Regions from separate parts of the Homo sapiens genome. Here regions 2, 3, 4, 5, 6 and 7 are each linked to region 1. Evidence: promoter capture Hi-C in 16 types of primary human blood cells and fetal thymus (Javierre and others, 2016). All regions are on one chromosome and are shown on one strand. Each heading gives the region's core, a stretch centred on a gene start or on the middle of the fragment in contact. The rest is flanking DNA. Distances are from core to core; before and after follow the strand shown. Region 1 holds the start of ID2 (inhibitor of DNA binding 2). Region 2 holds the start of LOC105373407 (a long non-coding RNA gene). Region 3 has its middle 230 kb from the start of LINC01871. Region 4 has its middle 210 kb from the start of LINC01871. Region 5 has its middle 130 kb from the start of LINC01871. Region 6 has its middle 78 kb from the start of LINC01871. Region 7 overlaps LOC101929510 (a long non-coding RNA gene).

Evidence for each region. The method cuts DNA at HindIII sites, captures the fragments that hold promoters and counts their contacts. A CHiCAGO score of 5 or more calls a contact.
Region 2: a contact is called between a fragment that was not itself captured here and the fragment with the promoter of ID2 in region 1, in 1 of 17 cell types (naive CD8 T cells). The highest score is 5.6, in naive CD8 T cells.
Region 3: a contact is called between a fragment that was not itself captured here and the fragment with the promoter of ID2 in region 1, in 2 of 17 cell types (total CD8 T cells and naive CD4 T cells). The highest score is 5.6, in total CD8 T cells.
Region 4: a fragment that was not itself captured here is called in contact with the fragment with the promoter of ID2 in region 1 in 2 of 17 cell types (naive CD4 T cells and naive CD8 T cells); the score reaches 5.9 in naive CD4 T cells.
Region 5: a fragment that was not itself captured here is called in contact with the fragment with the promoter of ID2 in region 1 in 1 of 17 cell types (fetal thymus); the score reaches 12.5 in fetal thymus.
Region 6: a fragment that was not itself captured here is called in contact with the fragment with the promoter of ID2 in region 1 in 1 of 17 cell types (naive CD8 T cells); the score reaches 5.5 in naive CD8 T cells.
Region 7: a contact is called between a fragment that was not itself captured here and the fragment with the promoter of ID2 in region 1, in 1 of 17 cell types (activated CD4 T cells). The highest score is 6.5, in activated CD4 T cells.

What each region holds. Positions count from the first base shown.
Region 1 is chr2:8,680,243-8,684,173 of GRCh38, reverse strand. ID2 (inhibitor of DNA binding 2) reads right to left here and starts at 2,118. Exons shown (of 3, transcript NM_002166.5): 1 at 1,661-2,118; 2 at 1,268-1,331; 3 at 1-489. The coding sequence starts at 2,008. The coding sequence ends at 1,275. It overlaps ID2-AS1 (ID2 antisense RNA 1), which reads left to right and starts at 2,311. Exons shown (of 4, transcript NR_110154.1): 1 at 2,311-2,347. RefSeq lists enhancers at 1,879-1,928, 2,416-2,919. The HindIII fragment of the contact is 3,638 bases long and covers 1-3,205 here.
Region 2 is chr2:7,473,409-7,477,339 of GRCh38, reverse strand. LOC105373407 (a long non-coding RNA gene) reads right to left here and starts at 592. Exons shown (of 3, transcript XR_922748.1): 1 at 526-592. The HindIII fragment of the contact is 2,402 bases long and covers 1,044-3,445 here.
Region 3 is chr2:7,493,666-7,497,596 of GRCh38, reverse strand. No RefSeq gene overlaps it. Among named protein-coding and RNA genes, the nearest start is that of LINC01871, 230 kb to the left of the region's middle. The HindIII fragment of the contact is 1,092 bases long and covers 1,076-2,167 here.
Region 4 is chr2:7,512,748-7,516,678 of GRCh38, reverse strand. No RefSeq gene overlaps it. Among named protein-coding and RNA genes, the nearest start is that of LINC01871, 210 kb to the left of the region's middle. The HindIII fragment of the contact is 1,155 bases long and covers 1,174-2,328 here.
Region 5 is chr2:7,595,051-7,598,981 of GRCh38, reverse strand. No RefSeq gene overlaps it. Among named protein-coding and RNA genes, the nearest start is that of LINC01871, 130 kb to the left of the region's middle. The HindIII fragment of the contact is 1,166 bases long and covers 1,389-2,554 here.
Region 6 is chr2:7,645,695-7,649,625 of GRCh38, reverse strand. No RefSeq gene overlaps it. Among named protein-coding and RNA genes, the nearest start is that of LINC01871, 78 kb to the left of the region's middle. The HindIII fragment of the contact is 2,876 bases long and covers 177-3,052 here.
Region 7 is chr2:7,666,698-7,670,628 of GRCh38, reverse strand. It overlaps LOC101929510 (a long non-coding RNA gene), which reads right to left. Exons shown (of 5, transcript XR_007088657.1): 3 at 2,859-3,068; 4 at 2,705-2,782. Among named protein-coding and RNA genes, the nearest start is that of LINC01871, 57 kb to the left of the region's middle. The HindIII fragment of the contact is 1,257 bases long and covers 1,368-2,624 here.

The DNA of each region.
Region 1 (3,931 bases), core at 869-3,368:
TAAAGAGTTCACAAGGTTTCACTCAAATAGATATATTTATATATAAATATATACACAGCATTCAGTAGGCTTGTGTCAAAAAGGTAATTTCTGACCAAAAGACTTCATTTAAGTGACTGAATACTGGATCCTTCTGGTATTCACGCTCCACCTTTGAAAAAAGGCAAAGTCTGCTTAGATTGGGCAATTCCTTGTGATTTTAACGTTTTCGCTCCCCATGGTGGGAATAGTATATAAAGAAAACCTTCCAACTGCAGAAAGGGCATTTAAAAGTCTTTTTCATAAATAACGAATATCACAGTCCAAGTAAGAGAACACCCTGGGAAGATGATCATTCTTAGTTTTCCTTCCATTTTTTTTTTCTTTTTAAAAAGGTCCATTCAACTTGTCCTCCTTGTGAAATGGTTGAAAAATAAGTTCAGCACTTAAAAGATTCCGTGAATTTGTTGTTGTTGTTGTTGTGCAAAGAATAAAAGAAATCATGAACACCTGCGAAAGAGTGGGGGAGAAAGGCATGTTTAAGAGAATGTAACCTAAGGGCAGAGGCGGGCGACTGGCGCCGGGAGGAAGCCACAGTTTGAACATTTAACCAAACACTCAAAGATTGGGCAAACCCTGGCGTCCAGATGCAACACACACACTCGCCTCGACAGCGCAAATTAAACATTAAAATAGCAGAGACTCAAGGGAAAAACTTCCCAACCCAATCTCCTATTTGGATCTCCAACAGCAGTGCTACAGGCGCCAGTCTGCTTCTCGTAACAATTATTTGATTGAAAACAGCCCTTTAGTTAACAGATAGGGAAGTCTGGGATCCCACATCACAGGGTTGAAGGCACAGGGTAGCAATCCTCAACTAGCCCAGAGAATCCCAGAGGACTATAGTTTTAGGGAAGGAGGATCACTATGGAATTTGTGGCGGTAAGATTAATTACAGTGGAGGTTAGTACCTCATAGTACCAGAGGACTCGTAGGAAGATCCAGGGCATTACATTTGCTACAAAGCCAATACACACGTTCCTCGGCCGCCTTCGTAGTAAGTTATTGGCATCATTTCCTTTTAAAGGAAAATGTTCTGTGATCTCGAGCACCCAAAGCTACAAGCTCCTTCATGTCTAGTGAGACAATGTAGTACGGGTAACACCGCGAAGTAAGCATGCATTTACCAAATCAGACATTTTATAGATACACAAGCAAAAACACATGCGCGCGCGCGCACACACACCGAGGGGCAGTTTACCCACGGGTGGCACAAGCAAACACTCACCGCTTATTCAGCCACACAGTGCTTTGCTGTCATTTGACATTAACTCAGAAGGGAATTCAGAAGCCTGGAAAGAAAGAGGATAAAGAGTACGAGGTTAAGACAATGTTAAGTAGAAAGGGTTTTTTTTTTTTTTTTTTTTTTTTTGTAGTCCACAGACCAGCAAGTTCCATTAAACACGTTTATGGTAACAATTCAGATTTAAAGACAGACGCATTAACATGTCAGAACTTACTAGCAATTTCACGCACAGCTCAATCTACAGCAGATTCTGAAGAAAATAAAGTTAAATAGCTCATACGAAAGTCACCGTCTGGGCTACGGATCTCCTAGTGACAGCCCAGACGACCGCGGGAGTGTGCGGCGGCGGGGCGGGGACCCCGGAGCAGGTCTTACCTGCAAGGACAGGATGCTGATATCCGTGTTGAGGGTGGTCAGCGGCGTCCTGGACGCCTGGTTCTGCCCGGGTCTCTGGTGATGCAGGCTGACAATAGTGGGATGCGAGTCCAGGGCGATCTGCAGGTCCAAGATGTAGTCGATGACGTGCTGCAGGATTTCCATCTTGCTCACCTTCTTGTTCTGGGGGATGCTGGGCACCAGCTCCTTGAGCTTGGAGTAGCAGTCGTTCATGTTGTATAGCAGGCTCATCGGGTCGTCCACAGGGGTTTTGCTCCGGGAGATGCCCAGGCTGTGGTCCGACAGGCTGTTTTTCCTAACGGACCTCACGGGACTGAAGGCTTTCATGCTGACCGCGAGGGAAGGCGAGACCGGGAGGGAGCTGGCTGCCCTGAAGCTCAGGCCGCCGCTGCCGCCTGCTGAGCTAGCTGCGCTTGGCACCGGGCTCGGCTCAGAATGAAGCCCGAGCCCGGCGGGGCGGCTTTTATCCGCACTCGCCGGGGCCACACGCTGGAGCTTCCCTTCGTCCCCATTGGCGGAAGGTGGCACGTCTATCAAGACGAGCGGGCGCTTCCATTGGTGGGCGCGGGCGCGGGGCGTGGGCTTGGTTCTTCCGCGTTCGCAGCCAATCCCCGCGGGGTGGGCGGGGCGCGAGCCCAGCTGGGGTGGTAAATAGAGTACAGTACAGTAAGTGCGGGGCTGGCGGGGGGCGGGGGGCGGGGAGCGGCGGGCGGGGGGCGGGGAGGAGGGAGGCGGGAGGAGGGAGAGGAGGAGGGAGGAGGAAGAGAAGGGAAGATGGGGGAGGGGAAGGGGGAGGGGAAGGGGGAGGGGAAGGAGGAGGGAGAAGGGGGCAGACCCTGGGCGCCTAAATATGCATTCTTAATTCTAATTCCAAGCGCGCGGCGGGACCCTTGCCCTGGGGGTGTTCCCAGACCAAGCCCTACACACCTTAGAGCTGTCGGCAGCTCTAAAATCACAGCTACACGGGCGAGTTCAGCACCGCAGGGGGGAAGCCACAGTTCACTGCAACCCATCGGAGGGAGAGCGTGAGGAAAGATAGAAAGCATTTCAGAAGAAAGTGAAAACGCAAATTAGGTTGTCACTGAAGAGTCACGTTTGTAGAGTGAGTTCGTCTCTTCAGATAAGGAAAAGTTATGTTAACACAAACAAACCACCCACGCACGCATTCGACGACAGGCTTAGTGTGGGCTTTTGCAACCCGGAGCAGCGCGGGAGGCATTACTGTAAACTCAAGAAAATGAGTACTTATTGCAAACCATGCCCAACCTCACCGGTCGCTAAGGAGCTCTCACAGGCAGGGCGCTTTCAGGGTTCCTTTTCAAGAAGGAGGCAGGGCTATTATAATGATCGTATTAATCGGAAATAATTAGGAGAATTTGCATATTGAAACTACATTTACATACACTGCCCTTGAAAGGCTGCCGGTCTGTGCCCTTCCGTGTAGGTGGCAAAGTAATGTGATTAATTATGCACTAATTGTGATTTCTGGTGTCACATTCCAACACCTAGAGGAGTTCCAAAGCTTTGTGACAGATAGGTGGCCCTAGCCATTGATAGACATCTTCACACTAAGGAAAAAAAAATATTCTGTCATATGAGGTTTGGAATCTTTTCAGCACTAGTACTGAATACGGGTTCAAGGTTTTTTTTTTTTTTTTTGGCTGAAAATCTTTTAAGAACTCGTTCTTTCAGTCTAAGTTTTAAAAAGTTTGCAGCTATTTACTTAAATACCTTAATTTTCACATAATTGTAGCTTATCTAGAATTCTGTTTTGACCACAGTGTGTCAGTTTCTTGTTTTTGAAAATATTTGCTCCAGAAAACAATGAACTAGAAAACTCCAGGAAAGGCAATATTCAAATCTTATTTACTTTCTGCCTCAATCTCTACCTCCTTTGCATTTCAGAAAGCGGAAGGGGCAGGCCTAGAAGCTGAAAGAAAAGCTCGATAATGGGGAAACAGTGTTTTTTCCTTCAATTAATGATTAATTTCTCAGCTGGTGGGGCCAGCAGTCTCTGACCGTCACGTGACAGCTATGCGCCCCATGACGCCTCTCCAGGGAGGCAGAGTGGGTGGCACTGAGGTGGAGCTCACCTTCCTGAAATTCAGCCCCCTCAGTTTGGAGGAAGGAGGTAAACTGTTTCCTGTCCAGCCAGAAGTTTGCGGAGGGCCTTCCCCAGGCCAGGCAATGCTGCCTGCGACTCTGTCCCTGACAGCGTTGGATGCACCGTATCTCTTCTGATATTAAGTC
Region 2 (3,931 bases), core at 995-3,494, 1.2 Mb after region 1:
TAACAAGTTGATATTAACTCTTTAATGCTGGAATTATATGCCAGAAATAATAGAAGAAGGGCTTTCTATATGTCTATTTCCATACTTGATGTGGACAGTTCAAGACCCAGAAACAAGTAGAATTGTATTTTATTGTAACCTATTTTTAATGATATTCCAGGCTTCTACACATGGCTTTCAAAGTTTGCTGTAACAAAAACTAAGCAGTAACCAGTGGCCTTTAAACATTTCTTTCAAATACTCCTAGACACAGGTGCCAAGCACGGAGAACCTATATGATCACCTCTTACACTTTCTCGAAACCCATGAGTCCTTTTGCCCAGAGGTCGAGTCTAAAATGCAAATTCAGTCCTGAGAGTTTCCTCATCTGGGCTTTCTTCTATCATGGCTCCCTCAGGAAGGGGGGATGAGGGAAGTAGGCCTGCATGACTCCAGAGGCAGGGCACAGTGTCTGTTTCAATGCTGGCTAGCTTTTGGCTCCTTCATTCTGGGCTCTGAGGTAGGTCACAGGTCAGCCTGCCATACCTGGGCTCAGGTGGAGCTCCCGATTGCTTTAAGGGTCCCTTCGTGGGTTGTGCAACTCTGTGCCTTCCTCCAGGGAGACCCAGGCTCTGTGGGGAGATTACACACACATTAGGCTCATCAGTTTGATAAGGGAATACCTAATTCAAACAAATAACCCCCAAGAATGATCACACATGTTTATAATTGTCCTGAGCTTTGCAGGGTTCCCAGGGCAATACTGTATCCACTCCTTTCACTTTCCTCTGCAAAAGAAAACATGATGTAAGGGGATAATGTTGTTTAACTCTCTTCTGGTGCATTTTTTTAATTCTTATAGATATTTCTAGCCCTGAGTTTCACCACTCATGGAATAAATGGCATTCACTAATTTAGGAGAGGAGCAGAGATAACCTAATACAAAAGATTCATTGAAAGGTAGGCTTTGTTCCAAAAAATGGGGTAAAAGAGTGTTTCTAAACTCCAAAAATTTTTCTTCACATGTCAAGGACAGTGCTATGAAATGCAAGTTAAGAAAAGCTTTCCCATAAAAAGAGAAAGAAAAGTGTGTGCAATAGGTGAGAATTCTTAGATGTAGAATAGGCAGGACTCCATAAGAATGGAGAAGATTCCCCAACTGAAGCAAGAAGGGTTGTGATTCAACATTATGTTTGCTGTGCAGATGAAACACATAGAACACTAGAAGCAACCTCACCTGCTGGGTGAAGGAGGCCTGCATCCTCCAGGCACAAATGGAAGAAGTAAAAGTAGAAACACTATAAAGAAACTATAGCCTACTTTAATCCATACGTCTCTTTCTGTGGTTTGGAGCCATTTTGCTTCCCGTTCATCTGTCTTGCCCCAAAGCTGGAGAAAGGGAGCCCTATTGAAGCTGTGTAGTAGTTATCATTTGTGCAATGCTCTGAAATGCTGAAACGCCCTACACACCATCCAGCCTCTGTTATTCTGTTTTCCCTTGCCCTGTGAGATGCAGCTAAGCAGGATACCTCAACCTTCCCATGACTTCTTCCAGACCTGTTTTTGTTAGTTTTTTAAAAAAATTATGCCATAGAGTAAAAATTCAAAATGATGAAAATTCTTAGGAGTAATATTAGTTTTCAAGGCTGCTGTAAAAAAGTACCTCCAACAGCTGGCTTAAAAACAACACATATTTATTGCCTCACAGTTCTGCAGACCGGAAGTCTGAAATCAAGGTGTTGGCAGGGTTGGTTCCCTCTGAAGGCAGTGAGGAAGAATCTGTCCCAAGCCTCTTCCGAGCTCCTGGTGGTTTCCTGGCAATCCTTAGTGTTCCTTGGCTTGTAGAAGCCTCAACCTGATCTCAGCCTTCGTTTTCACATGCCATCCTCCCTCTGTGTGTGTGTGCGTGCGTGCGTGCACGTGTGCGTGTCTTGTGCAGAGTTTTTCTTTTCTTTTTTCCTAAGGACACCGATTATATTGGACTAGGGGCCCACCCTACTCCAGTATGACCTCATCTTAACTAATTACATCTGCAATGATCCTGTTCTGGTCGCAATCAGAGGCTATGAGGCTTAGGACTTCAGCTTATGCATTTGGAGGGGATGCAATTCAACCCATAACAGTTGTTTCATCTATTTTCAACTTTAATGTAGAAGAGTAAAAGAAAATAGAAGTAAAAGAAATTTTGCGGGTCCTGATTTTACAGAAACATTGGAAAGTCTCCACAACTTACAAATTTTTTTTTTGGCTTCTAGCCTATCTGTAAGAATGAATTCACCCTTCTCCTCTTCTTCTGACATCCTGTGGCTCATTAATGTCAGGCTTGCTTAGGGCTTCTACAAGCAGACCCCTGCTCCGTCCTGTGCATAACGCTACCCCAAACGTGTTCCACCGAAAGGTCTCTGTTTTTCACATTTTATATACTTGTTTCTCTTGCATTAATTCTTGAAGTTTCGTTTTTCCCATGCAAATATGAAAACACATTTTAAAAAAAGAGGTATTCTCTCCCTCTCAGCAGCAGAAGTTTGAAAACGAAGATTTATTTTGCATCTTTGACAGACGGATCTATTGAAATTTATCATTTTTAAAAAGACATATACCCTCTTTTTTGCAGTAGGAGCCAATAAACAAAGTAGTGGGCCCCTAATTTACATAAAAATTAATAAGAAACTTTATCTGAAACACAGATTGCTTTATTGCCTGACTTAACATGTCACAAAAGTCGGAGTAGAAGCATTGAGCACTGAAAATTCAAGAACCTTATGAAAAGTTGTGGTCTCCAAATTAAGGCTTCCAGAAGAAATATTAAAAGTCTGCTCACTTCCGTAGTAGTTTTATTCTCAGATATATATTTTTAAATAAATCTCAGAAGGCAAGTCCAATTTATCTTCAAAGCATTTCTTGTGTGCCCATTTGAGGAACATCAAATATTTATTACATGCTCCCCTGCAGATGGCAAAATCTATACAAAATAAATAAATATTTTCTGCTTTACGAAGTGTAAATTTTATGTGTGTTAAAACTTGTATAGATAACCTCCAAATCAAGGATGTGAGATCCAAATGTGCTCAAAAGGAGCAAACAACCACTCTTATTGTGACCCAAGTAAACTTCAAGGAATACCTGGATGGTGTTAAAAACAAAAACAAAACTCAAGCAATAATGAAGTCTGAACACAGTGGAGGGAAGGAATTGGGAGACCAGGAGATACGATGTATGATTCTACTTTCGTGGCTTCCAGTGGTCCTAGCACTTTTCTTTTCTGAGCCTCTTCAAAATGAAAACAATAGAGAGCTGACCATATTTCAGGTCATCCTAAGTTTACAGCTAGTTGTATGGTGAGGCTGGCTCTAGTTTTTAACTTATTTGTATCTTTTAAATTAAATAACACACCATTTAAAAAATACTTTTTCTACATAGAACCAAAATTTTGCTAAGAATTAGATTCAGTGGTTTTCTTGAAGCTTTGCTGATTCACTTTTAAGGATATTTCTTATACGTAAGACACTAGAGCTTAAGAGGAAATACATTTACAAAATGAATTTTTAGCTTTATCTGGCTCCTAAATATGTGAATAGCAGTTTTAGATTTCTAATGAATGCCATGCCCAGTCGGATTTGTCTAGGGGCAAAATCCCTTAAGATGCCCCTTGCTGTAAACCTCTCAAAAAGAAAATCTCATCACCAGTCAAAAGTAATGGGTCCAAGGGGTGTTGTGATTCCCCTAAATTCTCAGGTCAGCAGCATTCTCATTTCTGACTTTTTCACTTCGGTCAGCTGGAATCACACTCTACGGTAAAGAGGCTGGCATTTCTTTTATCTCAGTCTTACAAAATAGGTAGCTTTGGAAACTACTTCTCCACTTGAGTATCGCAAAAGCCTCCCTAATTGATAAATCTTCCAAGTTCATCTCCAAACAGATAGCACATTGCTTGCATCAGCAGTTTGCTTGG
Region 3 (3,931 bases), core at 372-2,871, 1.2 Mb after region 1:
AACTGCTCTGCAGAACCAGTTAGGTGAAAAGAGAGCAGCTGTCACCATGAGCAGGGGAACCTGAGGCTTTCTGGGGCAGAGCTGTGACTGTAGACAATAATGGCAATTGCTAAAATTGTTGCCTCTGTGGTTTTTTGATCCTGAATGTTGCTGTTGCCACTGCTGATGTCATCGCTGAAGGAACACAATCTCCCCTCCCCGGGCTTCTTTGCTATGCTATGTCTTGATTTAAATTCCTAGGTGCTTGCATCTGATCTACCACTCTTGCAAGAACGGAGTCTGGGAAAGTGAGTATTTGACTTCTCACTTTCTGTAGAGGGAGGCCAACTCTGCTTTCAGAACAGCTTCATGTGGTAGGGAATTTCGCAACTAAGAAAAGAATTAAGAAACAAATCAACAAACAACAAAACTTCACTATGTCCACAAGAATCTATTACTTTCTGCAGTATCATATGGCCTAAATATATTATGTAAATGTTGCTATACAGAATAAAAAAAGAATAAATAGAAATAATCCCCAGGTGGTGGAGGTTAGGAACAGATTGTTTAGAAATATAAGTTTGTGTTGAGATTAAGAACAGGTTAGATTCAGACAAACAAGGACAGAGGAAGTCCAGACTTCCAAGGTGGGGCAAATTGTATGGACAATGGTTTTACATTTTAAAATATGAAAGTATATTCTTAAATAAGCAAAATCATTGTCTGAAACAGAACACTAAAGCGAAACATATAGAGAGTAAATCTGGAAAGGTAACGTGTATCTTAGTTATGTGATACCTTTAATTTTATATTAAGGACTAAAGGAGATTTCAAGGATTTCAACTGGGAGATGATCTAGAGGGATAGTTATTAGACAACATGGAGCCCACCCTGAGACAGATCAGCAGACTCTCTGATGACCTGCAGGTGACTTGGGGAAGAGAGACAGCAGATGAGGCACTTAAACATCTGAACTTTGAAAATGACTTTGCAGTGATATAAAGAATTTACCATCAAAGGCAATTTGTTATATACCCTTATGGGAATGTCAATCACCTTGAAAATAATCAGCAGAAATAGAATGCCCCCAAAAGCTTCTTTTGTCTGGCTTCTGTTCATCATAGTATAAACTATTAGAGTATCTTTTTATTTAACTTTTATTTTAGGTTCAGGGGTACATGTGCAGGTTTTTTATATAGGTAAATTTCCTGTGGCAGGGAGTTGGCGTACAGAATATTTTGTTACCCAGGTAATCAGCATAGTACCTAATAGGTAGTTTTTTTATCCTTACCCTGTCCTTATTGTAATTTTACCTCTTTTGAATATAGTATACAGATTACAGATTGCAGGCAGGCTGCATTGTACATCGGCATCTCTGTTCCATTAGTCATATATCTTAATAAGGACATAAATATATTTTAAATGGTTATTTGTATCAATCCTGGAATTTAAATATCCATCATCTGGTGAATGGATAAACAAATTATGGTTTACCAATGAAACGGAATACAACTTAGCAATAAAATGAAGCAAACTACAGACACATGCAACAATATGAAGAAATCTCAAAGAAAATGTTAAACAAAAGAATGCAGAAACTTAAGGCTGTATACTGTATGATTCCATTCAGATGGCTTCTTGTCAAAGGCAAATCCTAGGAAGTTCATCTTTACTGCTTTTGGTACTAAGACAATAATAGCCATATCATTCATATATATATATATATATATATATATATATAGTTGTTGTTGTTGTTTTGTTTTGTTTTTTTGAGACGGAGTCTTGCTCTGTCGCCCAGGCTGGAGTGCAGTGGCGCAGTCTCGACTCACTGCAAGCTCCGCCTCCTGGGTTCACGCCATTCTCCTGCCTCAGCCTCACTAGTAGCTGGGCCTACAGGCACCCACCATCACGCCCGGCTAATTTTTTGTATTTTTAGTTGAGACAGTGTTTCACCGTGTCTCCATCTCCTGACCTCGTGATCCGCCCACCTCAGCCTCCCAAGTATATATACATGTGTGTATATACATGTAAATGTGTATACATATATGTATATATCACTTACACACATATACATGTATATATATTTATTTATTTATATTGGAAGAGTATGTGTACAATTAATATTAGTTCTTTCTTAAACATTTGCCAGTAAAGCCATTCAGTCCTGGAGATTTCTTTGTAAGAAGCTTTTAAAATGTGACTTCAAATTCTTATTAGACATGAGATTATTTAGGTTTTCTATCTCGTTGTGAGTGAGATTTGGTAGCTTGTATCTTTCAAGGAATTTGTCTCTTAAATCTGTTTTATCTTAAAGTTTTGCATACAATTATCTCATCGTCCTGGCCAGGCGTGGTGGCTCACGCCTGTAATCCCAGCACTTTGGGAAGGAGGCTGAGGCGGGAAGATCACGAGGTCAGGATATCGAGACCATCCTGGTTAACATGGTGAAACCCCATCTCTACCAAAAAAATACAAAAAATTAGCAGGGTGTGGTGGCGGGTGCCTTTAGTCCCAGGTACTGGGGAGGCTGAGGCAGGAGAATGGCATGAATCCGGGAGACAGAGCTTGCAGTGAGCCGAGATCCTGCCACTCCACTCCAGCCTGAGCAACAGAGTGAGACTCCATCTCAAAAAAAAAAAAAAAAATTATCTTATCATCCTTTAATATCCACAGGAACTATGGTTATGTTCATTCTTTCGTTCCTGACACTGGTAAATTGCATGTCCTCTTTTTGTTTGCTTCATCAGTAAACTAAAGGTTTAACAATTTTATGAATATTTTAAATGAGTAGTTTTTTTGTTTCCTTGATTTTTGTCTATTATTTTGCTGGTTTTAGTCTCATTGATTTCTGCTCTGACCTTTATAATATTTGTTTCCTTACTTGATTTGGGCTTAATTACTTTTTTTTTTTTTTCCAAAAATGTCTAATGTGGAAGATATGTAATTATTTAAGAATATACTATTTTTTCTGTTTCATGTGAACACTCAATACTATAAATTTTCCTCAAAGTGCTGAATTAGCTACATCCTAAGCATGTTGTTTCTATAAAATTATCAAAATTTGATAAAGTATAACATCCTGGAGATTATAAGATAACTTCATATTTATTTCAATTTGAGATATCAAAGTAACTATATACAGGTTCACATAATTTTTATGACAGATTGTATTCTCCAAAGATGGTTGCAACTACATTCTCCTTCTCCCATATTCTTCTACAAGGTGACTGACATTGACTTCATTCATTAATAGATGGAGTCAATTTACCCTCCTTATAAATGTAGATGAATTCGTAATTAGAGTATCATAGAAATGACTTTTTATGATGTCTCGGTTTGGTTTATAAAATGTGATGCAACTTCTCTCCTGTTCACTGAAACACCCATATTTGAATACCTGACTTACCATGTAAATAATTTAACTTCTATAAACTGGCTATGTTGTGAGAAAGCCAAGAATCATGGTGAAGCCACATGTATGTACTTAATCATATAGTATGTAGCCATTTTGGTTGGCTTTTTTCACTTAATACTATGCATTTAATTTTCCCCCATGTCTTCATAATTTGATAGTGCCTTTCTTTTTAGTGTTGAATAATATGCCATTGCCTGGTTGTATCACAATGATACACAATGGACATTTATTTGTCTGTTCACCTACCGAAGGACACTTTGGTGGTTTTCAAGTTTTAGCAATTATAAATAAAATTGCCATAAATATTATGTGCAATTTTTTTTGCGTGGACAAAATGGCTGAACTCATTCATCAATACCAAGGAGCATGATTGCTGGATTATATGGTAAGAGTATGGTTAGCTTGGTAAGAAACTGTCAAACCGTCTTTTGTATAATCGTGCCCTTTTGCATTCCTGGCAATGCTGAATGAGGTTCTTGTTTGTTTGCATTCTGAGTAGCATTTGATGTTGTTGGTGTTCTGGATTTCAGCCATTTT
Region 4 (3,931 bases), core at 502-3,001, 1.2 Mb after region 1:
TTTCAAGAAAATGAATGATGTCAAGAAAAGAAATAAGGCTTATGTTATTAACTGTAGGTAGTGAAAGAGTCCAGAACTAGCAGCAAGATGATCAATTGGACAAAACATATGTTTAGGAATTCATTAATGCTGAGTCATTGCAGTTCATTAGGTTGAGTGAAATATGGGTGAGAATATAATTGATTGAAACAGTGGTTCCTGATCATCACCAGGCACTGTCTGTTTGATATTTGGAAAAACCTCTGTCATTAGGAGGAATTCTTGAGTCTCATAGGTGTTTTTGAAGGGTAAACATCATAGCACTTGCTCTGTATAACCCTAAATAAACATATTTCCCATTGCCTGTCTGTGCATAATCATATCATCTGCATTAGAACCAAGTGTGAAGGTGGCTCTGGTCTGCATATTCCATCTGCATGGTATGAAGAAGTTGGAAAACTCTGGTGCCTTTCAATTCTAAGCATTAGGTTTTCACATTTTCAGAGCCAAAGACCAACACCTAATGTGTGTACTTAGGCTGATTGAATAATTACTCTGGGAAAATGCCATGTTATAAGATGATGCACAAGGCAAGAAACTGCCTCGCTGGCTGCCCAGCACTCAACTTCAGTACCCTGATTGTAATCTCAAAGCATCAAATTGGTGGATCCCTAGCACAAATGCCTTTCCTTTTTATTTTTCATATTTAATCTTTTTTTCTTATTTTTCAAATTCATATGACCATTGCTGATTTGAATTGTTAAACAACTGGAAAGTATTTCTATAACTATAATGGTAAAATATATTCTAGACTCAATAGTCCGATTATATTTGAGAAAGAAAAATATCCCAGAGATCAAGGCATAATATTTGATATTAAAAATACTTTTCTTCTATTCTTTCTCCAAAGTTTCTTTTTCATCATTCCCTATATGTTAGTTTGTTCTCTGTCCTAAAATCAGCTCACATTTACCCACATTGTGTTAAATATTTTTCCTATTATATGCTTATAACTGAAGTTCTTCAGTGCTTTTAATGAAGTGCTCTACTGGGAGCCAGTTCTAACCCAGAAAACCAAACTAGATCTAGAAATAGAAGTCAACAATATGTGGTTTTTACATTTGAAGAGTTCACAGCCCAATGAAGGAAACAGAAAAAGTGAACAAAAACCCCCAAACTACAGTGGAGGAAGCTTCAACAGAGGTATTAAATGAGTAATAAGAACACTGATGAAAGGGGAATGATCCCAGCCTTTGGAAAGAGGAGATTAAAAAACAGCTTTACAGGGGACAGCAGGTATCAGAGAGGGATTGAAAGTTTAACTTTCCATGGTCTACTCTAAAGTACAATATTTTATGAACCAGGAGATCTCCAGCTGCCATTGAGAATATTGGCTTTCATGAAATCCTTTCTTGAATGTATTGCCTGAATAAATATCATTGAGGCACGGACTTCACTGCCAAGTAATAATTCTAATGTTTGGTTGTAGAAGAAATTGGAGTTTCAATGTCATGTAGATATTTGTAACAAACAATGGTGCTTGATGTAACAGACTCCAAATTATTCTCAATTGTCCTATTGTGTGAATTATTTATGAACTTTTACACATCTGTAAACTCTTAGAATAAACCATTTTAACCATTCCATACATAGCCAGAAAAACATTATCAGACATCTTTTCACATGACTTACTTACAATTCATTGATTTACTTCAACATAACATTTCAAATGTACAAATTGCAACACTTTAGTTGTCCAGATGCTTAACAATTAGATATTTCCATTGTGTATCTTTATTGGTGCCCGCAAGTGGATTCAAACGCTTTGGGAATTACTAGGTGGAGATTGAGTAGTAGGCAATATAGATATCTATATTATTTTTTCTGTTTCTTAAAATTTTGTTTAATGAAAATAAATAATCTCTGGATTCTTGTAACAATACTGGAAAAATAGAGTAGGAGAAGGTTAGAAGGGAACTAACATTTGTTTAGCAACAACCATGAGCAAATGTCTTTACAGGGATTATCATATTTCATCTCCATAAGATGTTAGTAAATGAGTACATCATTATCCTTTTGATTATCTCCCATTGAGTTTTATTAGTCCCATTTTATCAAAGAAAATATGAGAGTCATTTTCCCAAGATCCACATATTCAAGATGGGCGCCATGTCCATCCCAGTATATAGCCATACCAGAAGTTGAACCTTATTCTGACTTTTAACCACAAGATAAATGACACTGTTTGTACTATCCCTTTATTTATGCCGTTAAGGATTTAATGCCATCACCCATGTCTCTGCACGGATATAGAAAGTGGCTAAATCATGCTGAACACATTAAAAAGCTTGTACCAGACTTGACCACTAGCATCCAAAGAGTGAGTGCATCTGTGGTGGCCAGAATAAAGGCCCCCAAAGATAAATATGGACAGTCCCTGGAATCTAAAAATATGTTACATTACATGGTAAAAAAAAAAAAAAAAAAAGACAATGCAGATGTAATTAAGGTTACAGTTTTCAGAATTGGAAGATTATCCTAGACTATCTGAGTGGGTCTAATATAATCACAGAAACCCTCAAAACTGGAGCACTTTCTCTGGATGGAGTCAGAAAGATGCAGCAAAAAGGGAAGTCAGAGTGATTCCATGAGTGAGAACGTTTCAGTGCACCATTGCTGGCTCTGAGGTATAGATGCTCACACACAAAAACCAGAGAGAGGTCTCTGGAGCTTAAAGCCAGCTGTCAGGCAGCAAATGAGAACCTCACTAGTGAAACCAAAATAAAGTGGATTCTGCCAGCAACGTGAATGGCATTGGGAGCAGATTCTTGCTAGAACTGTTGATTAGAGCTTAGCCGATGGACACCTTGATTCCAGCCTAGTGAAACCAGAAGCACAGTAATGAGATGATCCAGATTTCAACCTACAAAACCATGAAATAAGAAATACATGTTTTAAAAAAACTAAGTTCGTAATAATATGTTATGGCAGCAAAGGAAACAATTGTAGCACCCTACCAGCTGGCTAGTAGCCCTAGTTGTGGTCAGCCTAGTAGATCTTTTCTTCCCTTGTCCCTCTCCCAGTGTTTATCTATTTCATTACTTCAGAGCTGCATCTGCCACAGTTAGAACATTATATATTTTAGTCACAAAATTCAACTCGCCAAGGGTCCTCAGAGAACACCCTCCCTCTTTCCTATTTTTTAACGAAGTGTCTCCATCACAAAATACTACTCTTGAGCCAAACTCACTATGACTAATTTAAAGATTGTGTAAAATTAATTCATGGACTGATATTTCCTATATACTCAGTTATAACCAATAATGAACAAATCTAGTCATTTCTTTTTCAACAACAACTTGTATTTTACTATAAATTAATGTATTCTTATGTTTAAAGTGCCTGTGGTATCATAAGCACTTGGCATAATTTATTAGGAAGTGGTGTTAATGGGGGCCACACAGCAGTGTGATTGGGACCTCGAAGTCCTCCTCTGTATGACTGTGCTGCTTCCTGGACATGCACACAGCAGCAATGGATAAGGCAGTCACTTTCCAAAAAACCAGAGTGAGTCTGATTTTAGCAAATATTTTGCTTCTTTTTTCCTTCCCTCCAAAGAGCTGTTGAGAAATATGTTCCTTGATTTTGCTGTAGCTTATCCTTCTGTAATAGTTTTCTATTGCTATGGAGCAAATTACTACAAACTTAGCAGCTTTCCACAACACACATTTATGATCTCACAGTTTTTCTGGGTTAGGGGTCCAGGCATGGCTTGGCTGGATTCTTTACTTTAGGATCTTACTAGGGTGAAATCCAGGTATTGGCTTGGGCTGAGTTCTCATTAGAATCTTGACTGGGGAAAGATTCAATTAACTTTCATGCAGCTTTGAGTCTGAGGTTCTCTTTTTCTTGCTGGCTGTTAGGCAGAGAACATACTCAGCTGGAGAGGCTG
Region 5 (3,931 bases), core at 722-3,221, 1.1 Mb after region 1:
CTTAGCAGGGTGATGTTGTGATTTTTGACCTTATGGTACCAGCTCATTGAATTGCCATATTTTATTTTGTAAATCAAAGCAGCAAACATAATCAGTAAGATTAACTACCAAAAGTCCCCTAAAAATATAGTCAGTGATGAGCACCTATCAGTGTTCTCTGTGAAGGCACATGAAAAGCCGGATAACTCGGCCCTGACTTTATAAGGAAGAAAGGTAAGGATCAATAAGTTCTGCCAACAGAAGGGACAGTTTATTAGCAGTGTTTCATGCTACATTTCTCAAAGTTTAGAGAGCATTTAGACACATCTGTGGGGCTTGTTAAAACCTAGGTTGCTGGCCCCTATCCCTTGAGTTTCTGTTTTGTTTTGAGTAGGGACCTAGAATTTACATTTCTAAGAAATGTCCAGGTGATTCTGATGTTGCTTGTCTGAGAAACTGTGCTGTGTGAGAACCAATGCTTTACACAATGGTGAACCTCGAATTGAGCTAAGTCTTCCCAGGATCTTTGGTGTTTTCAGCCCTCAGCTATTAAAAATTACTAATACGGGCCACTCACAGTGGCTCATACCTGTAATCTCAACACTTTGGGATGTCGAGGTAGGTAGATCACTTGAGGTCAGGAGTTTGAGACCAGCCTGACCAACATGGTGAAACCGGTCTCTACTAAAAGTATGAAAATTAACTGGGTATGGTGGTGCATGCCTGTAGTACCAGCGACTTGGGAGGCTGAGCCCGGAAATCGCTTGAACCCGGGAGGTGGAGGCTGCAGTGAGCGAAGATCACACCACTGCACTCCAGCCTGGGCGACAGAGTGAGACTCTGTCTCAAAAAAAAAAAAATTTACTAAAGCAAGAAGATACAGCAATACAGCAATTATTAACTTTTGCTTCTTTTGTTCTCATCACCTGAAAATCCAAATCTACCTGTCTTGTACATCTCAAGTAGAATACCCCTCCTTCAAGGAAAAATTTCCCAAAATGTTATCTGTCTCGTGCAAAGACTTCCTAAATCTTCCAATTGAGAGGAGTCTTTCCCTCCATAAACAGCCACAGCAGGCATTCTCACAATGCCCATCTCTGTCTATCTGGGAGTATTTGTGTCTGTGTAGACATATTATATGTATCAAATCTCCCACCTTCCATGCCCCAGAAGATGCTGGGTAATCAAGTCTAAGCTGGTAACTAGGCATAAGTCTCTCTACAAAAGCACCAGACAACCTTTGATTTCTATTCCTGAAAAAAGAAACACTGTTTTAAACTATGACTGAATATTGACATCACACACTTAGAAACACAAACACACACACACATCCATCTAAATGAAAAAAATATACTTCTCTGAAGGACCACATCCCAAAAGTCAATCTGACAAAAGAATAATTGGAAGCTTTAAATACAAAATTATTTTTGGAGGAATGTTGATCTCAAAATGGAGGAAGCCTCTTCTTTAAGTTTCTTTCCTGCCTGCCACTGCTCACTTTGTATGTGGCCCCTACATATAGTTTTGTGTTTCCACAGGATCCGAGGTGTGTGTGTGTTCGTGTGTGCCCGTGTGTGCTTGTGTATGTCTTCATGAACTCTGTTTCCCTCTTCGGCTGTAGGTTCTGTTTTGTATTATGTTCATCTGCATTAAGTCTGTTTGGTGTGATTCTTACAGATGGCATAGAAGAGTATTATTGAAATGACGTTTCTAGTAGCCTGGACACCTTCCAGCACATTCAAATCATAGGACCAAATTCTTTCATCTAATTAAGTTTGAAAATAATTTAGCTGATTGATAGTTTGGGTAGAAAGAACTTCTCTAGACCAGGGAGCCAAAAATGGCACATGCTTGAAGTAATCTCACCTCCTGCCATATTCAGAACTTACCATAAATTACTTCTGCTAATATGTTTCCTGAAATACACTCAAATTATCTATAGCAAAAACCTCCTTGGAAAATTCGATCCGTCCCCTCTATTGTGCTTGTTGTGAACTCAACCCTGTGTAACCAACATCTTTCTCTTTCTTTCTTCACGCTTTGGTGAGTACACAATTTGCAAACTTCAGGGACGGAAATTAACAAAGAAACATTTTTATTAGCAGTCCTAATTTCACATTCTATTAGTGGATCAATTACCTAATGCAAAGACATACAACCAACTTAATAAATAATAATTATTATTAGGATCACCTGCATACAATCACAATCAATTCACTATTTACTCTTTTGAAAACCAAGACCTTTCACCACAGGGGAGTAAATGGAAAATAGATGAATACGATCAGGTTGATTGCTGCACTAACTACTCAGAGTTTGTGCCAAATTGAGGTACATCCGTAATAGAACCTTGAGAACACAGAGGAAACCACTCCGGTTCCAGATTGCTTTTTCCTCTACACTCGCTGGGAAACACCTCACCGGTGGAACTGCTTCTCACTCATCTTGTAACTCCAGCACTTCACACATATGTAATAGGCACTTAATATGTGTTTGTAGAGTTGAATATAAAACCTACATATACTCCTTCTAAATTTCTGCTTCGTATTCTATCCAAATAAAAAGTGTGCAAGCTTAAGGCTTGTATACTCTCATATAATTTGAATTCTGGCATTATTTTGTTTATTTAATTATTTAGCCAGTTGGTGATCTAGTTAGTTTTGTGGTTTAGTGTTTTCAAATACTTTGAGTAGAGAAGAAGCCAAGCATGCTTGTTATCAGAGAAAAAAACATTTTTTTTCCAAACCATGGAAATCCTACGTTATTCTAGATTATCTGGATAGTGACATATTTTCTAAATTCACAAGTAATTCTCAAGCAAGACTAGAAATCTCTCTGTTCGAAATGTGTTGTCAAGACTCAGGTACATTATGGAATCCATTTCATCCCCAAAATATAGCTGACAGCATTTTTTAGGTAAATCCTTTACATCTGCGCCAAAGCCACTCAGTTTTCATTATCTTGTATTTTAAGATCAATTATCTTTTAATATGATTCTAAAATTATTCTCAAAGCTAAAGTCAATGTTGGCTGATTTCGCCATTTGATTTCTTCATAGTTATTTAACTAATAGCTGTAAAGCCACAAATGAATACTGGAAAAAAATGGAAGAAAAAGAGTTGTTATCAAAAGCTATGCTTTTCTTTAGTTTCAATTGCCCGCATACAACCATATTAATTTAAAATTATGAGCTAGAGATAGAAATACATGAAAATGTTTCACTGAGCCTTTGTTGGTCTTATAATTCCAATTCCACTTTCTATTTTTTTTTTAAGCAATTAATTCCACAACTAACACTCTGTGGCGGATGTCATTCAAACTGCAGAAGCTTATTGGGTAGTTAAAAGGATAAAATCAAGTAGTCATTCTACTAATCCCTTTACAAGGAAACAGCTTTCTGCATAAAAAGTGGAACTTATGTGGCCATTAGCAGATGCTACATCAAGCGACCAAAAATATACACATTTAAATTCTTAAGCACAATCTATGAACACTACACAGATGGTTTCCAAGAAACTGTACCTAAATTGATTACGATAAAAATGATCTGCTGCAATTGTTTCTGTCAAAAGGGAGAACAGAATTTGTCCCAATGTGTCGCTCTGCCCACTCATGCAGAGAACCCAGCTGCTGGGACAGATGTTGCTCTAAGCACTTTATTTTAGGGTCATTAAAATGGTTACAGGGGTTAGTCATCCCCTGTTTTATAAATTGTGCTTACTAGCTGAGCTCAACAGATGCTAGAAAACTTCTTTGTAGTTGATCAGAAACAAAGTTTCATCTCAGATCCCCTCTACCTTGTGCTTATATGCAGAAATTAGGAACAAATGGAGATGAACAGTGAAACAAAGAAGTGTGTAAAAATCCTGGCACATTTGATCCAGGAAGGTGTCTTTACATAGCTCTGTTAATAATGCTGATGCTGGCCTTGGAGCATCCTTCGGCTGACAAT
Region 6 (3,931 bases), core at 365-2,864, 1.0 Mb after region 1:
TAGAACAACTCCCCTGATTCTTGTTAATGAGAAGAATGACTCTGGGTCACTGTGGTTGGCTCTCGTGCCTTTGCTTGCATGGATTTTGATGGGAGCAATGAACTTGAAATCCATAAGAAAACTCATGTTTTTCAATCTAGTCCCATAGCATTATTTATTTTTCTTTTTTAAAAGCTTTTATTTAAACACTGAATTTTTTACAACAGTATTTAGAATACAGTTCATCTGTATGTAGCTAGCAGGTTTTGAAATGGGGTTAACTTTTATCTTACACACAGACACAGATACACACACACACACAGAAATACACACACACAAGCATTTGGAAATGGATAAAGTTTTTCTTGCGTTTATTTTAACACAGCCGAGAACATATTTCTCCTCATCTTTGAGTAGGTGAAGGGCCTTCTTCATTTTTGAGGGGGTCTAAGCAAATTTGGTTTCATTAAGTAATCGTGTCTTTTCATCCATGTGACTCTGATCTCTGTCACATTTTTCTCTCCTTGTTGACCATGCATATTCCTTATCTTGCCTACATTCTAGCAGTATCCTTTTAGCAGAGATTTTGTAAATTCTGCTATTCTCATTGCATGATCCTTTTTGGATATAAGCATTTTATTGAGGTGTCAGAGATCCTATGTATCTGCTTTGCTCTTGGGTAGAAAGCGTTGTATTCAGATCTGCATTTGATTCCAAAGACTGTGTTCATTCTGCAAAAATCTCCGTGGAGGGAAGAATCAAGTTTATCTGGATTGCTGCTGAACCACCAACAATGTGCACAGTGCCTGGCTTGCAGTGGAAGATATAAATAATGTTAGACGAAGTAAAGATTAAGAAAATCGTTCCTGCCTATCCGTGAGAGGGAAGAGGGCCATGCTTGAGAGTAGGCCAAGCCCCACAGAGGGGGACATGGGTGCTCCTTCTGATCGGAACTCAGCCAGGTGTGGTTTTCAGATTTCTGCTTAGGACACCATAGCCATGAAATAATGGAATTCCATCTGTGACCTACATTTCCATGCTTCCGCTTTCTTGGCAAAGGCATCTGACTAGCAATGGTAACTTGTCTGTTTTCTTCCTTGGTAGATATCTCTGAGAGCTGCCATCTGAGGACTGTTATTGAATTCTGCACTTAAGGTTTCAAATCTAAAAGTCACAAGCTCATTATAGACATATTTATTCCCTACAAGTGTTTTTTGGACCTAAACAGATGGTTTGGACACCACCCAGGCTAGTTTAGTCAGATCTTTTTTATATCCAAACAATATTTTATTATCATGACGAAATTGTAGAGCACAACAAATAATGTAAATGCTATTTATTGGCACTTACAAAATTTCCGTTTCAAAAAGTCACCAGAATTAAATTCTTCCAAGCATGCAAATATCGACTACTTTTTCTTAATTTGTCTCAGTGAATATAAAAATTAATAACTTGTTGAGATATGTCTAAGTTAACAGATTATACCTTTCTAGCACTGGTGACATCATTTATATTGTTCATTTATTCATTCAATCTATAAATAATTATTCAGAGTTCATTATATGAACACTGTGTTAGACACACTAAAAAGGATACAAATGCAATTCACACCACTGTTCTTTCATCAAAGATTACTAAAGAGAGTTGGAGAGAGAAGCCATATTTGTGCATGGCTAAGATACAAAACATAAAGTGTATAAAGACCATCAAGAGAGGTATGAAGAAGCGGGTGTTGCGGTATGGAGAGAAAGTAATACAATCATTACCATCCAGGAACAGCATCTCACACCTGTGCTCCCAGCACTTTGGAAAGCTGAGGCGGGAGAATCACTTGAGCTTAGGAGTTCAAGACTAGCCTGGGAAACATGGGGAGACCCCTGACTCTACAAAAAATAAAAAAATTAGGTGGACATGGTGGCACATGCCAGTAGTCCAAGCTACTCAAGAGGCTGGGGTGGGAAGATAGGTTGAGCTTGGGAGGTTGAGCCTGCAGTGAGCTGTATTTGTGCCACTGCATTCTAGTCTGAGTGACAAAGTAAGACCTGTCTCAAAAAAAAAAAAAAAAAAAAGTATTACCAAGGACTGGACCTCTGCTGAGCCAATAATCAGAAGAGCTCTTAATCCCTACAAGTCTTTGAAGAGCGCTTAGATCTCACTTTGAATAAAACATATCATCACACCTTAATATTAATGAAAAGATGTAAATAAGGAAGTGCAGACAATTCAAAGCATCCATTCATCGATTTAATATTATTTCCCCTCCCAAATGTTAAGAGCTCAACTCCATGCCAAGTCAGTCACAGGGCACTGTAACACCATTTCCAAAGTGTATTTGAAAGCAATTTGCAGCTGGAGATGGAGAATGTGTTGTCAAAAATATTGACAGTATTTTATTTCTCCTCCTTAGTTAGACTCAGTATGGGGTTTTTAAGTTTTTGATGACTTGTGCTTTTGCAGAGAAGAAAGGAATCTTGGAGGTAACCATGGCGATGTGGGTCTCTTACCACTAACCTTCAGGGTATCTTTCCTGCTGCATCAAGAGAACACAATGCCTTGTGGAATGAGAGAGAAATCAGCACATGCCCTATTTAAAGTAAACATAATTCTGACTTTTTTTTTAATGCTAAGAATCCATGAAATGAGCTGCTTCCAAAAAGTCGCCGTGGTGAATGTCACATGTCACCCTCTCCCGTGTAGATCTGGAAAAGGCATCCATCCATCCCATGGTCCATGTGCTGTGGCCGCCTTCCAGTGCTCCCCCCTGCACTTCACACCTCTAACCCTGAGTCAGTGCAGCCCTCTCCTGATTCAAGCTGTTATCTTGGTTTGTGGAGACAATCTGTTTGAAAATATGCAGTTTCAGCTTCTACGCAGTTCATAAATGGAGCCACTTTCGCTAGCTCTCCCCAGACCTTATTCAGAGTATTGTTTCTTGCCAATGTATCTCTGGATATGTGCACTACTGGAAACATTTCTCTCTTTCTTATTTTTTTTCCTTTTAAGCCTTTGCCCTTTCAAAAAAGGTGTCCCTAAAATCAAAACAAAACAAAAAATACAGATATGAGCAAAAGCTTAATGTCTGTGAGGCTCACTCCCTAATTTTCCATGTGTTGTATTTTCAGTTAATGTGTTCGTGAAACTGGGGAAATGTTTATTTTCATAGCAAATACAGCTTTGGGGTAAAAATAATAGGGACAGTGTTCAAATTCTGTAATACTTCTTAGATTAACATACTTCTTTGCTTCACAGGATAAAGCATAATTGAAAATTTTCTTCTTTTTAAAAATTACCTTTAAGGGCTAGGAGAGGTGGCTGATAGGGTTTGGCTATTTCCCCACCAAAATCTCAACTTGAATTGTATCTCCCGGAATTCCCATGTGTTATGGGAGGGAACCAGGGGGAGGTAATTGAATCACAGGAGCTGCTGTTTCTCATGATAGTGAATTAAGTCTTACAAGATTTGACGGGTTTATTGGGAGTTTCTGCTTTAGCTTCTTCCTTATTTTTTCTTGCCACCACCATGTAAGAAGTGCCTTTAGCCTCCCACCACGATTCTGAGGCCTCCCCAGGCATGTGGAACTGTAGTTCCAATTAAACCTCTTTTTCTTCCCTGTCTCAGGTATGTCTTTATCAGCAGCGTAAAAACAGACTAATACAGAAAATTTGTATGAGTAGAGTGGGGCGTTGCTGAAAAGATACCCAAAAATGTGGAAGTGACTTTGGAACTGGGTAACAGGCAGAGATTGGAACAGTTTGAAGGGCTCAGAAGAAGACAGGAAAATGGGAAAGTTTGCAACCTCCTAGAGACTTGTTGAATGGCTTTGCCCAAAATGCTGATAATGATAAGGACAATAAGATCCAGGCTGAGGTGGTCTCAGATAGAGATGAAGAACTTGTTGGGAACTGGAGTAAAAGTGACTCTTGCTATGTTTTAGCAAAGAGACTGGTGGCA
Region 7 (3,931 bases), core at 747-3,246, 1.0 Mb after region 1:
GTAAAAAAAAAAATGGAAAAATACATAAAAATGTAAACAGAGACCTCAAATCACTTTTAATTCATTAACATTTTGTTATTTTTTTCTTTCCGTACTGGTTTTTCTAGATAACTAATTAGACAGATGAGACAGACAGACAGACAGATGGCCCATAGTATCTTTAACCATTTCTCTATTGTGGTTCTAGTTACATATGTCAAACTGACTTCTAAAAATAAATGAGCAGCAATTCATAGCAGTATATGAGTATATCTATCTCATATCAGAAGAGGCAATAATGTAGTAACTTCTATGGCTTTGGTTTCCCTTCTAAGAGAAATTGACATCTTATTCCTTTAATTACATTACTAACCAGATTGAACAATTTTCAATTTGGTTATTTTTCGTATTTATTTCCATATTTACTTTTCAATAAAAAGTAAATTTTTTAAATTTTCCCTATTAGAGGTTAGATATTTCTTTATTCAGAATTACAGATCTCTTTTCTCATTTTATGGCAAACACATCCATGTTTGTTTTATACAGATCTATAATTCTTTCTTCCTGGCTTTAGAAATGAAAGCTAACTTTTCTTACTTTGGGAAATAATGCCTAACTAACTTCAGGCTAGTCTTTGGGCTAATAGGGAATTCCTACAAGTGCCAGTCTGCAAATGAAAATGAATTCTAGCCAAGTTATTATCATTTTGACCTTTAATTACATGTGTCCTTCTTCTCCCTCCTTTGAAGACCAAATTAAAAAACAAAGCAAAACAAAACAAAACACTTGGTTTTTGTATATCTCCTAAATCTGACAAGCAATTTTTGGCTTCCTCATAAGTTTCTGTTGCTGTTATTCTCCACAGAATTTTTAAAGATATAGTATATAAGGAAAACAATTTTTGTTTGCTTTTAGACACTGTGGTTAATTTTTAAAATTTAGACATTTAAAACTCCTTAAGTAACTGATTTTTGACATTTATTTGTGTCCCGCCAGTTGCTTAGAAGATTAAAACATTCTTTGGAGAAACTCTGTACCCTTTTAAAGATTGTTAATGATATAAAATTTAATATTTATGGTTACTAGTAATCAATCAATACATATTCTTTGAGTTAATGACTGAACTATTCTTTTTTTCCCTCTTCACCTACCCAAATCTTAACCACTTTTCTAGGCTCAGGCTAACCTCCTTGCCCACCCCTACTAGGCTATACAGAAAGTCCTCACCCTTCTTAGAAGCCATATTGTCCTGTTAAATCTCCCTTGGCACAAAGCGAAACTCACTCCAAATATTACTAAACTTTCCATGTGTTTATATTTTATTTTTTCAACTAGCTTCATTAAGTGTGCATCCATTCAATTCAATTTATTGAATGCTTTATTAAGCTTCACTTAAATAAGATTTTGTAAAATTATGTAATTTTTACATACTTGTAAACATACACACATGATATCTTTATTCCAAAAGAGATGATAAGTGGAGGAAATGGGGAGAGTGGGTGCCCTGGTGGTGTGTTTGAGTTGACTTGCACCAGCCTGCAAGAGCCTAGGGTTAAATTTTCAGCAATTTTGTAATTTGGTTGTTAAACACAGTCATTATTAAAAATCAAGTGTACTATTATAACTTCTCTGTCCAACTTTGCCTTCAGTGACATCATGTTGGTAGCTTGAAATTGAGCATGGTAGAAATATTTATAAAACAGAAATTGGCAAACACTGTAAAACAAAACTTGATTTAATGCTCTGTTGATTGACTAGACTTAAGAAAGTATTGCAGAAAATGTCAGTAATGCAGATTAAACCTAATAGTGTGCTGTGCATGTAGCTACTACATTGTGTATAGCAAAAGATATTGAAGAAATATTCTTCCTGTATTTGAATACCATTATCCAATTAGACAAAAAGTTCCTCACATCATTGAACAAAGGGTGAAATTCCGATATACATAGCAATGAACCAGAAACAGACTTTGATTTACTAAATGTATAATAGTTTGTATGAGAATGAGAACTAGTTTAACAATAGATCACATATTGGACTTAATGATAACAAATTTAATGAGGAAAGAGCAGAAAGGGATTCAGTTTCAATTATCAAATCATAACTGAATTGTAACCATAGGTTGGCTACAGATACTGCAGCTTGGCAAAAATCAGTGAAAGTATTCTGTAAGAATTAATTGCTTATGTAAAATTTGCAATAAAGAGTATTGTGTATTTTATTATTTGTAAATTGTGTGATATACATCCTTTATATGAGTAAAGTTTATAATGACATTATATACATGTATATATATTCTAGCAATTTTTATTTGGCGAGCTTGTTGTTAAATATTTACCTGCAAATCACTGTGTGCGTTCTTCATTGTAAAATGCAATCATAGTTGATTTTGAACAAGGGAATGTAGAGCCCTAGCTACGTTATGGGCATTATCTCCCCACTTTTCCTAGAGATGTATCCTCTCCTATTACTTTATAAAATATATGTAGCTTAACTTTTGTTTTCTGGGGGGTAAGGGCATTCAGAATATCCCCATCTCTGCTCTGCCTGTAAAATACCTATACATGCTTTATCTTTTTTTATATCATAAAGCATACAACTAACATATGCTTCTTAAAAAGACACCAGGAAAAAACACTTAAGCTTCATAACTATCAGTGAGACCCCCAAAATAGCATCTTTCAATTTTCCCTACTGCAGTTCTCTAGCTTAGAAATTCCCATACCTCCAGTGCTGACTCTGGTAACTGTCCTCTCCACTAGAAATCCCATAGTGTAGAGTCCCATTCCAAAACAAAAGATACCTAAGGAAAAAAATAAATTTAGATTTTTAAATAAATAAATCAGGACTCATGAAAGCTGCTTCTCAATTTTACATACCCATAACGTTGCCCACTTTGCCCTCAAAGGATGATGATTATTTTGTCTTCAGGAAGATGATCCTTCTGTCTGAAGCTCTTTTGCCTGTTTGTGGTATTTAATGTTGACCCCGCCGTCTACATCTCTGGGTTAAGTCATGGAGGAAGGAAGCCCTGTGTGTGGACAAGGTGCCTGGCTCTGGTGACCTTCTCCATCATCACGTGATCTCACCTATAAACACAGCATCCCAAAGAAGATGACAAATTAAAAAAAAGAAAAAAAGCTTATCTGAATGACCTTCAATCAAAGTCTTCCTCAAGATCTCACTTCCTCTTCTCTACTCTCAAAACCTGAGCCCTAATTTTTTCCTCTAAACCTAAAAAGATACCCAGTTTTGATTGCTAAAATGTTTCCAACACAAGTAAAATAATTCGACTTAATGGATAGAGGATGACTACTGAAATTCATTTATCTCGATTTGGTATATTTAAATACCAAGAAAGATCAAGGAATTCATATTGGCTACATATGCGCTAATGAGATAATCAGGGTTTAATGAAAACCAACAGTTATTAGCTAATCAGTTCAGCTTGGTGACTATTGGTCTGTTATGGCAGGACAAGAATAATTAAGTGATACTTAGAGGTATGAGAAGAATGTTAGTCAGAAACTGATGTATCTACAGAAGGCTCCAAATGGCCGACGTTTAATGGTCCTCTCTACGTTGCCATGACAACTCACTTGGTAACTCGTGTATCCTCAGTTTAGGAAAACAAGGGGCAGAGTGTTCTTAGGAAGGTGCCATCCCCTTTAAGCGGATCTATAAGCATCACAGATGAACAGAACTTTAAACATTCCGCCATGAATATTCATGAAGTAAGTTGTTTTTTGTTGCCTGCCTAGTCAGCAGTCACAAAACACATGGTGTGTGTTGGCAGCATCTTGCCTAGGTAGAGGGCTAGGGACTGAGGCAATGGCAGGAACCAGGACCTGTGAGGCTGACTGACATTTCCATCTGTAGCAAAGGCTGGTAATTAACAGGAAGGAGTATGCCTGCAGCATTGCACCATCTGCTAGGGAAACGGCTCAATAAG